Regions from separate parts of the Homo sapiens genome. Here region 2 is linked to region 1. Evidence: promoter capture Hi-C in human tissues and cell types (Jung and others, 2019). All regions are on one chromosome and are shown on one strand. Each heading gives the region's core, a stretch centred on a gene start or on the middle of the fragment in contact. The rest is flanking DNA. Distances are from core to core; before and after follow the strand shown.

What was found. Contacts are between HindIII fragments. The study calls those that stand out against the background at their distance.
Region 2: a fragment that was not itself captured here is called in contact with the fragment with the promoter of ACOT6 in region 1 in 1 of the 25 tissues and cell types used here (hippocampus).

What each region holds. Positions count from the first base shown.
Region 1 is chr14:73,607,606-73,614,312 of GRCh38, reverse strand. It overlaps ACOT6 (acyl-CoA thioesterase 6), which reads right to left and starts at 1,796. Exons shown (of 3, transcript NM_001365788.1): 1 at 1,281-1,796. The coding sequence starts at 1,741. It also overlaps a transcript of HEATR4 not described here. RefSeq lists a silencer at 216-460 and enhancers at 1,536-1,585, 1,119-1,618, 1,636-1,685. The HindIII fragment of the contact is 22,654 bases long and covers 1-6,707 here.
Region 2 is chr14:73,752,520-73,758,696 of GRCh38, reverse strand. All of the region lies in intron 1 of MIDEAS (mitotic deacetylase associated SANT domain protein), which reads left to right. Among named protein-coding and RNA genes, the nearest start is that of MIR4505, 3.1 kb to the left of the region's middle. RefSeq lists enhancers at 377-426, 2,118-2,197, 3,601-3,680, 3,711-3,780, 4,081-4,330 and a silencer at 2,037-2,331. The HindIII fragment of the contact is 7,118 bases long and covers 1-6,177 here.

The DNA of each region.
Region 1 (6,707 bases), core at 547-3,046:
AGAGCTGTAAAAATAAAGCAAGTTTTCTTGTTTTGGAGAATAATCACAGAATTCGGTTTAAGGATTCTATGTGCTGTTGCAACTCTAGAATTTGTTGTTGTTGTTGTTGTTTGAGGCAGGGTTTCACTCTGTTGTCCAGGCTGGAATGCAGTGGCGTGATCTCAGCTCACTGCAACCTCTACTTCCTGATATCAAACAATCCTCCCACCTCAGCCTCCCAAGCAGCTGGGACTACAGGCATGCACCACCATGCCTGCCTAATTTTTTTTTTTTTTTTTTTTTTTTTGTAGAGACAGAGTTTCACCATGTTGCCCAGGCTGGTCTTGAACTCCTGGGCTCAAGTGATCTGCCCACCTCAGCCTCCCAAAGTGCTGGGATTACAGGCCTGAGCCACTGTGCCCGGCTCATCATTTTTATATGGTAGAGGTTTAAGTCAGGAATTTAGTTAGAAGGGATTAATCAGGAGTCTTCTTTCTGGGCTACCTTTACCTAGCAAACATCCTGTGTTTACTTAGACTAGGGTTCCTCAACCTCAGTAGTACAGACATTTTCAGCAAGATAATTCTTTGTTCTGGTGGTTGTCCTGTGCATTGTGGAATGTTTAGCAGCATCTCTGGCCTCTGCCTGCTAGATGCCAATAGCACCTCTCCCTTCAGATATGACAACCACAAATGTCTCCAGATATTGCCAAATTTCCCCCAGGGAGGGCGGCTAATCATTGCAGGTTGAGAACCACGTACAGCATGTTTATGATAGAAGGGAGAGGACTGTCAGGCAGTTTTGTGTGTGTTTTTAAACAATTAAAGGGCATTGCCAATACTGTGGATTTTAGCTTCTTTGGAAGTTTGATGTGAAAGGAGGCAAAAATCCTTCTTGCACATCAGCTTAAGGTTTTGCCCATATCGTATTCAAACAAAACCACATGGCTGGCACATAGTGGCTCTCAATAAATATATAATAAGTTGAATGCACTATTCAGCACATAGCTAAAGTGGTGGTGCCTCCAGGGAGGGACGTGAAACTTAAAAAGGAAAGACTGGAGTAGCTACTCAGGAGGCTGAGGCGAGAGGACTTGAGCCCAGGAGTTCGAGGCTGCAGTGTGAGCTACGATCCAGCCACGGCACTCCAGCCTGGGCAACAGCGGACGCCCAGACTCAGAATCCATGACAGACTCTGGAGCGAAGGAACAAGTTCAGGGATGTTCCACAATCACGCGATTCCCAGGACAGGAAAGGGGCCGGTGGGGGTCGCAGAGCTCGACCAAATTCTGGGCAGACTACTCATCCGGCGGCAGGAAGAGCGCGGCGCGCACCGGGCCCGCGCGCACCGGCTCGCGCCGCACCCCCGGCCGGAGAAAGTCGCGCTTGTTCTGCGCCAGGCACAGCAGCCGCCCGGGCTCGGTGTCGTGGCCGTCCAGCACTTCCAGCTCCACGGCGAAGGGCGTCCGCACGTCGCGCTTCACCAGCCGCACCAAGGCTTTCTCGGGCTCCAACGCCCACAGCAGCCCCATGGGCTGGAGCCCCGCGAAGCTGCCTCCCAGCGCGGGCGCGCGCTCCAGGTCCAGCTCGTCGCGGGCGTCGGCACGGTAGCGCGCGTGGGCCCGGAAGAGCGCGCCCTCTTCGTCGCGCAGGGACGTGCGCAGCGTGACTGGCTGCTCCGGGGCCAGGCCGCGCACTGCGATGCGCAGCGGCTCGTCCCAGCAGCAGCGGCCCGCGGGCTCCAGGATCAGCGTCGCTGCCATCCCAATCTGGGTAGAACAGGGGCGACCCAGCTCCGCGGAGTCAGTGGGCGGGCCTGGCGGCTTTGCCGAGCGCTGGAAAGTAGTCGAGGGCGGAGCCCTTAACACTACTCCCATTGGTTGGACTTGGGGACAGGCTCCAGGCCGCTGCGTGGGGCGCCTAGAATTTGTGCAAATACACCAGTGTCCCAAATGAAAGAGTATCTGCTGAAATAAGAGTTAATGACCAATCCGGCCGGGGGCGGTGGATCACGCCTGTGATCCTAGAACTTTGGGAGGCCGAGGTGGGTGGATCACACCTGAGGTTAGGAGTTCAAGACCAGCCTGACCAACAGAGTGAAACCTCATCTCTACTGAAAATACAAAATAGCCAGGTGTGGTGGCGCATGCCTGTAATCCCGGCTACTTGGGAGGCTGAGGCAGAAGAATTGCTTGAACCCAGGAGGCAGAGGTTGCATTGAGCCAAGATTGCACCATTGTACTCCAGCCTAGGCAACAAGGGCAAAACTCCGTCTAAAAAAAAAAAAAAAGAGTTAATGACTATTCCTGCAATCCAATGTGGTGAGTGTCGAAATAGAGGCACAAAAACCACTGAGAGCTAAAGGATTGAGAGAGATACAGTCCAAGAATCTAGATTTTGAAAAAGCATCCCAGGTGATTGTACTCAGGTGACCCCTTGGAGAAACATGGTCGTAATCCGTCCTTTACCCCTCAGTCCCTTACCAAGCCTTTTTTCCAGGGCTAATGGTACCTGGAGCAAAGCAGATGTTTAGGGAGGCAGACCTAGCCGAGTTCTGGTCTGACCCTGATCCTTAATATTAATACCTGGTGATCTTTAGCAAGAAACATAACCCTCTAAATTCAGTTTTCTTATCTGAAAAGGCTTATTGTGACCATTAAATGGGCTAATGTGTAAAAACACTACACTGACACACCTGTAGGTTAGTACCCAGTGAAAGTTTTGTTTTGTTTCTTACCTCACAAATCTAATCACTGGCAGAGTCCATTTTGGGTTGTATGCATACAGAGTTCTGGCAGTAAGCAAGTGGCACTCTCAGCCTGTGTAATTGAGGAGAGTTTTATAAAGGTACTATCTACAAAGGCATGGGCAAGATTTAAAAACAAAAACAATGAAACAAGATTCGGTGTAGAACCCTGAATCTGAAGGTTCAAGGGAAGGGGGCAGTCTGATAGGAGTTGTACCTTTTTTAGAAGGAACCTATGGTTTGTGGCAGGAAGGAGGAGACTATAAGTCCCTTGACTCTCCTCTTGTTTTTCAGTATCTTGCTAATGCCTCTCTTTGGCCAAACCCAACCACACAGCTCAACCTAGCTGGGAACATAGCAGGGTGGAGAAGGAAGAAGAGCATATAGTGATGCCCAGCTCAGTAAACATGTATAAACTGAACAAAAAGGTATTAGACTCTATGAAGCAAGTTCACTGTATGCTGGTTACCAACTTGTCTGAGTCCAGTGAGAAAACACATTCATATATTTAATACAACAATTTACATGAACTGGATTTATTACTTACAGATAGGCAGCAAAGAATGACAGAAGCCTAAGAATCATTGGAAACCAGTCCCCCAAGGCTCAGGAATGCTGCCTGGGTGATGGAATCTCATGTGTGTGTGCCCCACTTGCACTGCAGCTGCCCTGAGTTTTGTACTCTGGGGTCATGTGACTGCTGGGTTAAAGCATTGAAAGACATCCTGTTTGTAGGGAGGGGCTGGAATAGAGCCAGGGCTATTCCAGCCAGTCCGTCCCTCTCTCAGGATGTTACATTCCCAGCACGTTCTATGCTTGAGAACTACTAGTGAGAAAGAGGGGAGAACTGAGTCAGTCCAAGGCCAACCAGAGAACTGCCCTGCAGTCCATCCCCAACCCAGATACCTCCTTTAGTAAACCTAGTACATTTCATATGCCCTCCAGACCCCCAGGATCTGGAGGCAGAGGTTTGTCTGATCATATTAATATGGCACCTTGGTCGGGCACGGTGGCTAATGCCTGTAATCCCAGCACTTTGGGAGGCCGAGGGGGGCGGATGACTTGGGGTCAGGAGTTTGAGACCAGCCTGGCCAACATGGTGAAACCCTGTCTCTACTAAAAATACAAAAATTAGCTGAACGTGGCAGCACGCGCCTGTAATCCCAGCTATTCAGAAGGCGGCGGCAGGAGAATTGCTTGAACCCGGGAGGTGGTGATTGCAGTGAGCCGAGATCTCGCCACTGCTCTCCAGCCTGAGCGACAGAGCAAGACTCCCTCTAAAAGAAAAAAAAAAAAAAGCGACACTTGACTGAAACAATCTCGGTGCAACATTGTTAAGCCATGGCCGGAATATATTGCATTAGGCCCAGGAGACTACTATAATAAGCAGGATGATCAGGCTTGCTTGGAGCTGTGGCCTACCCCCAAGTCCTAGTGATCCAGGCAAGAAGTTTTGAGGTCCAAGAAAGATTCTTTAGGTAGCCACTCTGACTGCAACCAGTAGGCCTGCTTCCAGATCCTCTACCTATGTCTCCACCATGCCTGAGGTGTTTATCCAGGTACACCAGGAGGTGTTGGCAGTGGCACACACTCCTCCCAATTAGTCTAAAAAAAAAAAGGGTAGAGGAATTCTGTTGTTTAAAACAACCTGGCCAGGCGCGGTGGCTCATGCCTGTAATCTCAGCACTTTGGGAGGCTGAGGCGGGTGGATCACGAGGTCAGGAGTTTGAGACCAGTCTGGCCAACATGGTGAAACCCCGTCTCTACTAAAAATACAAAAATTAGCCAGGCATGGTGGTGCGTGCCTGTAGTCCCAGCTACTCGGGAGGCTGAGGCAGGAGAATTGCTTGAACCCGGGAGGCAGAGGTTGTGGTGAGCCGAGATCGCACCACTGCATTCCAGCCTGGGTAACAGAGCGAGATTCTGTCTCAAAAATAAAATAAAATAAAATAAATAATAGAACAACCTTCCCAAGGGAGTTGAAGGATGTCCCTGTGCTGCCAAGGCAGTGGCACTGGAAGCAGCAATATCAGGCACAGTTTTCTTATCATTTTTTTCATGAGCACTGACTCCTATATATGGTACCAAAAATTTCATAGAGGACCTAAACCTAGAATCAGCCACGACCTGGCAGGTTCCTAATAAGCATGGTGCATACTTTTAGACTACTGGCCCAATGATGTTTCTTGTACCCAGGGGTGATATGCAGGAGCACCCCCAGCATGCCCAATGTCCAGGATCCCATCATCTGCCAGCTTTCCAGGTATGACATTGTCCATCCCATGTTTGGCTCACTCCCAGATCACCCACAGAGGAAGAGGCAGCTTTTGGATGCACACTGCATCATTTTATTCAGCAACCCAGTCATGGCTATGGAGGATTGGTATTCACCAGCCAATTCTCATTGATGGCATAGTGACATGAGCTCAGTCTCCCCCATACAATCAATATCGTTCACAAAACCTGTACACAGAGGGTTAGCATTACACCTGATATGGTTTGGCTGTGTCCCCACCCAAATCTCATCTTGAATTATAGTTCCCATAATCCCCATATGTCCTGGGAGGGACCTGGTGGGAGGAAATTGAATCATGGGGGTGGTTAGTCTCATGCTGTTCTGGTGATAGTGAGTGAGTTCTCATGCGATCTGATGGTTTTATAAAGGCTTTCCCCCTTTTGCTCAGCACTTTTTGTTGCCGCCATGTGAAGGACATGTTTGCTTCCCCTTCTGCCATGATTGTAAGTTTCCTGAGGCCTCCTCAGCCATGCTGAACTGTGAGTCAATTAAATCTCTTTCCTTCGTAAATTATCCCATCTCAGGTAGGTCTTTATTAGCAGTGTGAGAACAGACTAATACAGTAAGTTAGTATCACAGAGAGTGGGGCACTGCTGTAAAGATACCCAAAAATGTGGAAGCGACTTTGGAACTGGGTAACAGGCAGCAGTTGGCACCGTTTAGAGGGCTCAGAAGAAGACAGGAAAGCGTGGGAAAGTTTAGAACTGCCTAGAGACTTGGAGGGCTCAGAAGACAGAAAGATGTGAGAAAGTTTGGAACTTCCTAGAGGCTCATTAAATGGCTTTCACCAAAATGCTGATAGTGATATGAACAATGAAGTCCAGGCTGAGGTGGTCTCAGATGGAGATGGGGAACTTGTTGGGAACTGAAGTAAAGGTCACTCTTGCTATGCAAAGAGGCTGGTGGCATTTTGCCCCTGCCCCAGAGATCTGTGGAAGTTTGAACTTGAAAGAGATGATTTAGGGTAACTGGCAGAAGAAATATGTAAGCAGCAAAGCGTTCAAGAGGAAGCAGAGCATAAAAGTTTGGAAAATTTGCAGACTGACTATGCTATAGAAAAGAAAAACCCTGGCGGGGCACAGTGGCTCATGCCTGTAATCCCAGCACTTTGGGAGGCCAAGGCAGGTGGGTCACAAGGTCAGGAGGTTAAGATCAGCCTGGCCAAGATGGTGAAACCCCATCTCTACTAAAAGTACAAAAATTAGGCAGGCACAGTGGCAGGCGCCTGTAATCCCAGCTACTCGGGAGGCTGAGGCAGGCGAATCGCTTGAACCCAGGAGGCGGAGCTTGCAGTGAGTCAAGATTGCACCACTGTACTTCAGCCTGGGCAACAGAGCAAGACTCTATCTCAAAAGAAAAAAGAAAACCCCGCTGGGCATGGTGGCTCATGCCTATAATCCCAGCACTTTGGGAGGCCGAGGTGGGTGGATCACCTGAGTTCAGGAGTTCGAGACCAGCCTGGCAAACATGGTGAAACCCCATCTCTACTAATAATACAAAAATTAGCCAGGCGTGGTGGTGCATGCCTGTAATCCCAGCTACTTGGGAGGCTGAGGCAGGAGAATTGCTTGAACCCAGGAGGCAGAGGTTGCAGTGAGCCCAGATCGCTCCATTGCACTCCAGCCTGGGTGACAAGAGCGAAAGTCTTCCTCCAAAAAAAAAAGAAAGAAAAGAAAAGAAAACCCTA
Region 2 (6,177 bases), core at 1,413-3,912, 140 kb before region 1:
ACTTTGTTGGTCACAACTACGGTGGCTGCTTCCTGTTTCCACCATCCCACGTGGGACCTGTGTGCCAGCCTGTGGAGCCTCGCGCGGGGGGCGGTGGGATGGGGGAAGAGAGGCTGGCCACGGAGGCCCCGGTGGCCCGCGTATGCAGGGGATCCCTGTTGGCAGCTGCGGCTGGGGGAGGGAGGGGATGTCTGGCTTGCTCCAGCAGGGGGAGCCTGGCCAGGTGATCTGGGATCTTCTTGTTCCTGTAGCTTCAGGGTTGAGACTGAAGGCCTAGTGAAGGTGGACCGAGAAGCCAGTCCTCCCTAGGGGGCCTCAGCTGAGGGGAGAAACCACCTGTCTTGCTCTAGAGCCTCCCACCAAAGGTGTGGCACACGCCCCTTTTGGATCAGAGAAATGCACCCTTTCCTTGGGTGTTAAGTGGCTTCAGAACCCAGGGAAAAGGAGAAGCCTTCCCGGGTTGAGAATTCGTAGGTCTTCCTTTTCCAACTGCTCTGGACAGTGAATAATAGGAGCGTAAACATTCAATTACTGTGATAAACCATCTCGTTGCATGGCCCTGGTCCAGTCTCCACTCTAATTGGATTGGCCTCTGGCTGGTTACTCTGGTCCGTGTAGCTCCCGGGGGGACAAGGGGGTGAAGAACCTGGAGGATGCCCCCAGGTCATACAGCTTGCCAGCTTGCTCTGGAACAGCCTAGCCACTGCCAGTGTGGCCTCTCCAAGTGCCAGCAGAACCCCCACTCCCGTGACTCTGTCAGCTCCTCACCCCGCCCCAGGAAAGAGCGCCCTGGAGTGCCCATGGGGATGAGAATTTAATTTTTACATGTGGGATTTTAAAATAGCCCCAGTGTTTGACCCTGTGTGCTGCTGCTTTCAATAAGTGGAACACAAGAAAAGACAACATGCAGTTGTGGATTCAGCTGAGGGCCTCCTGTGTCTAGAGTCCCCAGAGAAAGGCTGCCCAGGGGTGCCAAGACCTCTGACAGAAGAGGGGAAGGGGAATGGGCCCAGTCCAGGAATCTTCAGGTTGAGAGCCCCTCTCTTGCATTTGGGTCTCCCAGAAGAAAACTTTGCTCATGCTGGGGTGGGGACAGCCACAAAGTGGCTGGGGGTTTCCAGCTTATCCTTCTAATCCTGTTTCAAATGCCACTTCTGAAGGCTGTAGCCATCTTCTGAACACTCATTTCCACCTTATGTAGTTATTTGTGTACATACTGCAGTGTGGTGGTCAAAAACAAAGACTCTGAGTTAGAGTTCCTATACAGTATCTCCTTCATAGAGTTGCTGTGAGGATTCTGTGAGTTAGTATACGTAAAATGCTTAAAGCACATTTCAGTATTTGGTAGCCTCTGCTTGAATGGGTCCCACAATGCTGCTTGGCATCTAGTAAGTGTTTAGTGTTTTTTTTTTTTTTTGGTTGTTAGAGATAGGGTCTTTCTCTGTCGCCCAGGCTGGAGTGCAGTAGTGCGATCTCAGGTCGCTGCAATCTCAGCCTCCTGGGCTCAAGCAATCTTCCCACCTCAGCCTCCCAAGTAGCTGGGACTACGGGTACACATCACCACACCTGGCTAATTTTTCTATTTTTGTAGATATGGGGTTTTGCCATGTTGCCCAGGCTGGTCTTGAACTCTTGGGCTCAAGAAATCCACCCACTTTGGCCTCCCAAAGTGCTGGGATTACAGTCTTGAACTACCTCACCTGGTCTTAGTGCATGTTAGTTGAACAAATTAGTGAAAGATCTCCATCAAAAAAAATGTGTACTTGTCATGTGTTGGGCCCAGTGAGTCCCTGCTCCTGGAACCTCCTCAGATTGCATCACTGGTTTCAAAAATGTCAGTCCACCGTGGGTGATTCTGGGGCTGGTGAACCCAGTTTCCTGGCACTGCCCTGTAGCTGGCCTTGTGGAGTGCATGTGTCGGTCATCCTGACCCTAAGGGGACCTCAGGGTGAAAGAGTTGTGGAGCCATCTCCCTAGGGATCTGCTAGCCTGGGCACTTCCTTTGGTCAGCCCAGATTGGCACCCTTCCTGTGTGTGTGCAGGCGTGCATGCATCAGTACAGAAGCAGCCTGGGGCTCCATTCTTCCCTGACTCACTGCAGGTGGCAGGAAGCAGAGCCAGTGGCCGCATTCTGTTGGAGGAATTGCTTCTTTCTGCACATGAGAACTCTTGACTCTGGGACTGAAAAATTGCATGCTGGGCCGGGGCTAGGGTGGAGTAGGCTGAAATCCCCAATTCTTACTAAGGGACCTGCATTTGCATTCGAAGCAACATTCAGGATACTGTGAGACTATGAGCTCATTTTATGAATCAGAAGCATTACAGCATAACTTTAATGTTGGAAACTGCAATTTGGAATCCAGATCACCCTCCCTCCACCTCAGCGCGCACGCGCGCGCGCACACACACACACACACACACACACACACTGACATGGGCTCTCGCAGTCACACACTTGGGAGCAATAATAGTTGGAGCATCAGTTCAGATTCTGGAGGCCTCCAGCAAAATTCATCCACACCGACTTCTGCTTCCACACTCAGAACGCCGTTCCTGGATGGTGTGTGGACAGTCACTTGGGCAGTGACTGAAGGAAGTCTGATGGGTGCGTGGGAATGAGGCCTGGGCAGACCTGAGTTCATACCCCAGCATCTCCTCTTGCTGTGTGGCTTTGGGCATTGCTTAACTTCTTGGGCCTCAGTTGCCTCACCTGTAAAATGTGGATGATACTAGTACTTCATAGGCTGTGAAGATTAGACAGGATTATGCATGCAGAGTGAATGACACATACTAGGTATTCAACAGATGGCAACTCTCATTTCACCAGTTCCCACTGGATCCAGTGTGTTTGCCTTTGACTCCTATCAAGGAAGAGAAAATGAAGGGTGTCCTGTTTATAGTAGGAAAGCAATCTACCAGGCCACTGAAGCTTGTATAAATGAAGTTTATTGTGCCCTGGGAACAACAGCTTGATCCACTCCACCCTAGACATGTGGCCCAGACCCAGTGTCTGTGTGCCTTTGAGAGGGACTGTGGCCCTGCAGCCGAGGGTTGAGGGCCCAGCTTCCCAGAGATCAGATTGTGCTCTCAGGAACCTACCCGCCCAGGCCCCAGGCTGAGCTGCTCACGTGGGTGGGCAGGAGGAAGGCTGCTTTCTCAGCCAAGGAAAAAAAGTCCCCTGTTTGCTTCACCTGAAGCCTCGCAGTGTGACCTCGCAGGAGGTTTGGGTAGAGCCAAGGGTGGGAGTTTTTCCTTAAAGACTGCTTTGGCTCTTTTACCCATTAAAATTATGTGCAACGGTGAAGGAAACACCAAGAATTATATAAGAAGAAAGTTGCCACTGTCAGAGGAGAGCCGGAGTTGTGCTGGGGTGGGGCTGGGGGTCTCCCTGAGGGCTGCAGTTGCTGGCTGTCATTCTCGGCTGGTGGGGAAGAGCTGGTGGGGAAGAGCCGGGGCTTGGGGCTGAGGCTTCCCTGGCAGCCGCCCTTGCTGTTGCTCTTCCTGGAACACAGCCTCGTGCTGTGGCCAGCCAGGGAAGGTGCTCCCTGTTCCCTCTGCCTTTCTCCCAGCCGCAGGGAGCTTTCGTGGTGAGAGCATTTTTTCCAGGCAGTGCTTCTTCCTTCAGGAGTCCTGGGAAGGAAGGAGAGTGGGGAAAGCACAGGGCAAGGTTTATCCCAGTTAAAGCTTGGATGGAGAGAGTGAGCTACAGTAGGCTTGTAGCTGGCCAGAAGGGGCTTCTCTCTAAAGCCGCTCAGCTTCTCTGGGGAATTGGAATCCAGACAAGAAGGAAAATGGTGAGAGATTTTGATTCCCTGCTTTTCCCAGTAGTTGGGCAGACAGAGGACCCTATCCAACTTACCGTTGCCAGAACTTGCCATTTCTTTAGTAGGTAAGGCCCCCATAGCTCAGAAATGGGCTTAAGTGATAACTTGCAACCCCGAGACGGCATGTGAGCTGGCAGTTCCTGGCACAGATCCTCCTCCCCTCCTGGCCTTCCTCTGTCTGAGGCCCCAGCTGGTCTTGGGTCATAGTCCTAATTCCAGAGCTGGGAAACCATTTGGGACATCTAGTCCGAATCCTTCATTTTCAAATGGGGAAGCCGAGAGGTGGTGAGATGCTTGAGGTTGTAAAGACTGTCTCCACTTTCACTTTGGGAGGGTGGAAAGGGACTGCTCCTGTGTCCTGCGCCTGGTGGCTGCTTCTCCCAGTTTGGAAGCTGGGAGGGCAGCTTGAGCGCAGGAAGAATCCAAAGGAATACTGTCTTGGCTCCTGGGTGTGGCTCAGTCCTCAGCTGGCTCCATAGTTATTTATTTGTTTGCATGTGCGTGAGTGAGTCCTGTGGTTGGGAGGCTGGATCTGAGTGAAAGCAGAAGTACCCACACTGTGTCAGCTGTGCAGCACACAACGGGGGACAGTTGGGAGGGGAAAAACGGGGCAGAGGCCCATCTGCATGGTGGCTGCTAGTTGTGCTTTCTGTCCCTGTTGCAGTGCTTGCACACTTGAGTGTAAACAGCCCTTCTGTGTTGCTAGCAGCTGCCTTTCCTTACTGGCTTTGGGCAGAAGAGGCGCCAAAAATAACCAGGCGGGCACTTCCACTTGTGGGACATTTACTGTGGTGGCCTCTGGGCAGGCTTGCTTGCTTTCTGTAGGCCCTGTGTCTCTGCCACACTGGAGTCCCTTCTACTTCCTGCAGCCCTTCCTCAGCCTCCCTCTGGCCATCGCACCTTCCCCTTTATTGCTCTTCTTAGAGTGAATCCAGGAGGTGGCGGCTCATCCTTTGGGCCTGGAAGCTCTGCCGGTATTATCTGGGAAATACCCTCATCCCCCTGTATCCCTGTAGGCAGGCCCTGCTGGCATAGCTGAGTTTAAAGGAGGCCTGTGCTGGGTGCCCTCTGGACTTTCTGGCCAGACCTCTCTCTCCTGGGTCTGTAGGCCGGAAGCTCTGCGTGCCTGCAGAGCCCCACACTGTTGCTAGGACTTTGAGTCTCCCTGTCCCGCCCTTGCCTGGCCAGCCTTGCTCTCAGCCAGCTGTGGAACTGGAAGAGTTGGACTATTCATTTCCTCCAAGGTGTTAAAGACTGATAACGATGTCTGAGCCACCCCTACCCAGCAAGGGAGACAGGAAACACATTTATTGAGTGCGTACCCTGTGCCAGGCGGCGCTTCATCTATGTATTACCTCATTGAATCCCACAATAACTGAGATGAAACTGTTGTGCCCATTCACCAATAGGGAACCCCAGGCTCACAGAGGCTGGTGATTGGAGAAGCCAGCACACATTGCCCCTGACTACTTTTACCCTGCAGCTCCCACACTTCCTCCGGCTATTTTCATGTGCACAAGGAACAATGCTTTGATCCTTGGTATGAAGTGCTGATAGTAGGAATTCAGGCACCATTAGACTGGCTGGTAGGGGAGATATCTTGGGCTGGGAAGGGTGGGGAAGACCTCCCTGCTGCCTCCCTCTCCAGATGCTTCACAGGGCAGCCAGGAGCCCAGCCTTGAGCCCTGAGGCCCTTCTGTGGAGGACTCAGCTGTGGGCCTGGGGACTGCTCGGCCAGGCACATGCACAGGAAGAGGGGAAAGGCTTGGTTTCAGCTTAGTGTGGGCTTCCTGGGGACCTCCCAAGTGTGTCCTCCCCCTTAAAGGTATCCCAGCCTCTGAGGTACTGAGAACAGCTCTGGGGAATCAAAGGCTGGGGCTAGGTGGAATCTTTGGTCTCCCTTCTTGGCTGCTGGGTCTGACCTGGGGCCCATCATTCCAGCTGGCTTGGCCCAGGTCCCAGAGAGTCTGGTTGGTGTGTACTTGGGGCTTGGGCTGGATGCTCTGCTGTGCCCGCATGCTGTGCCAAAGGCCTCTGGGTGTATTTCAGGAACAATAAAGAATAAATCAACATAGGAGAAAAGGCCCTGCAGCAGCTGCTCAGAGACTGGAGAAATGCAAAGAATGTGTGAGCCTTTGGCAAAAGTCTTGCATCTTGACCAGGGCCTGAGGAAGGGCGTGAGGCTGATGTGATGGCTCTGGAGTCAAATGGGCGTCTGTCTGTGCCCAGTTTGCAGCCCTTCTAGGAGGCCCCAGGCAGCCACACTGAGACTCCCCTCCCTCTGCTGGTGGCAAATTTTTTTGCTTCCTGGTCGCTAGCATGTACTAGGGAGCCATATTGCCCCCGTTCTTTA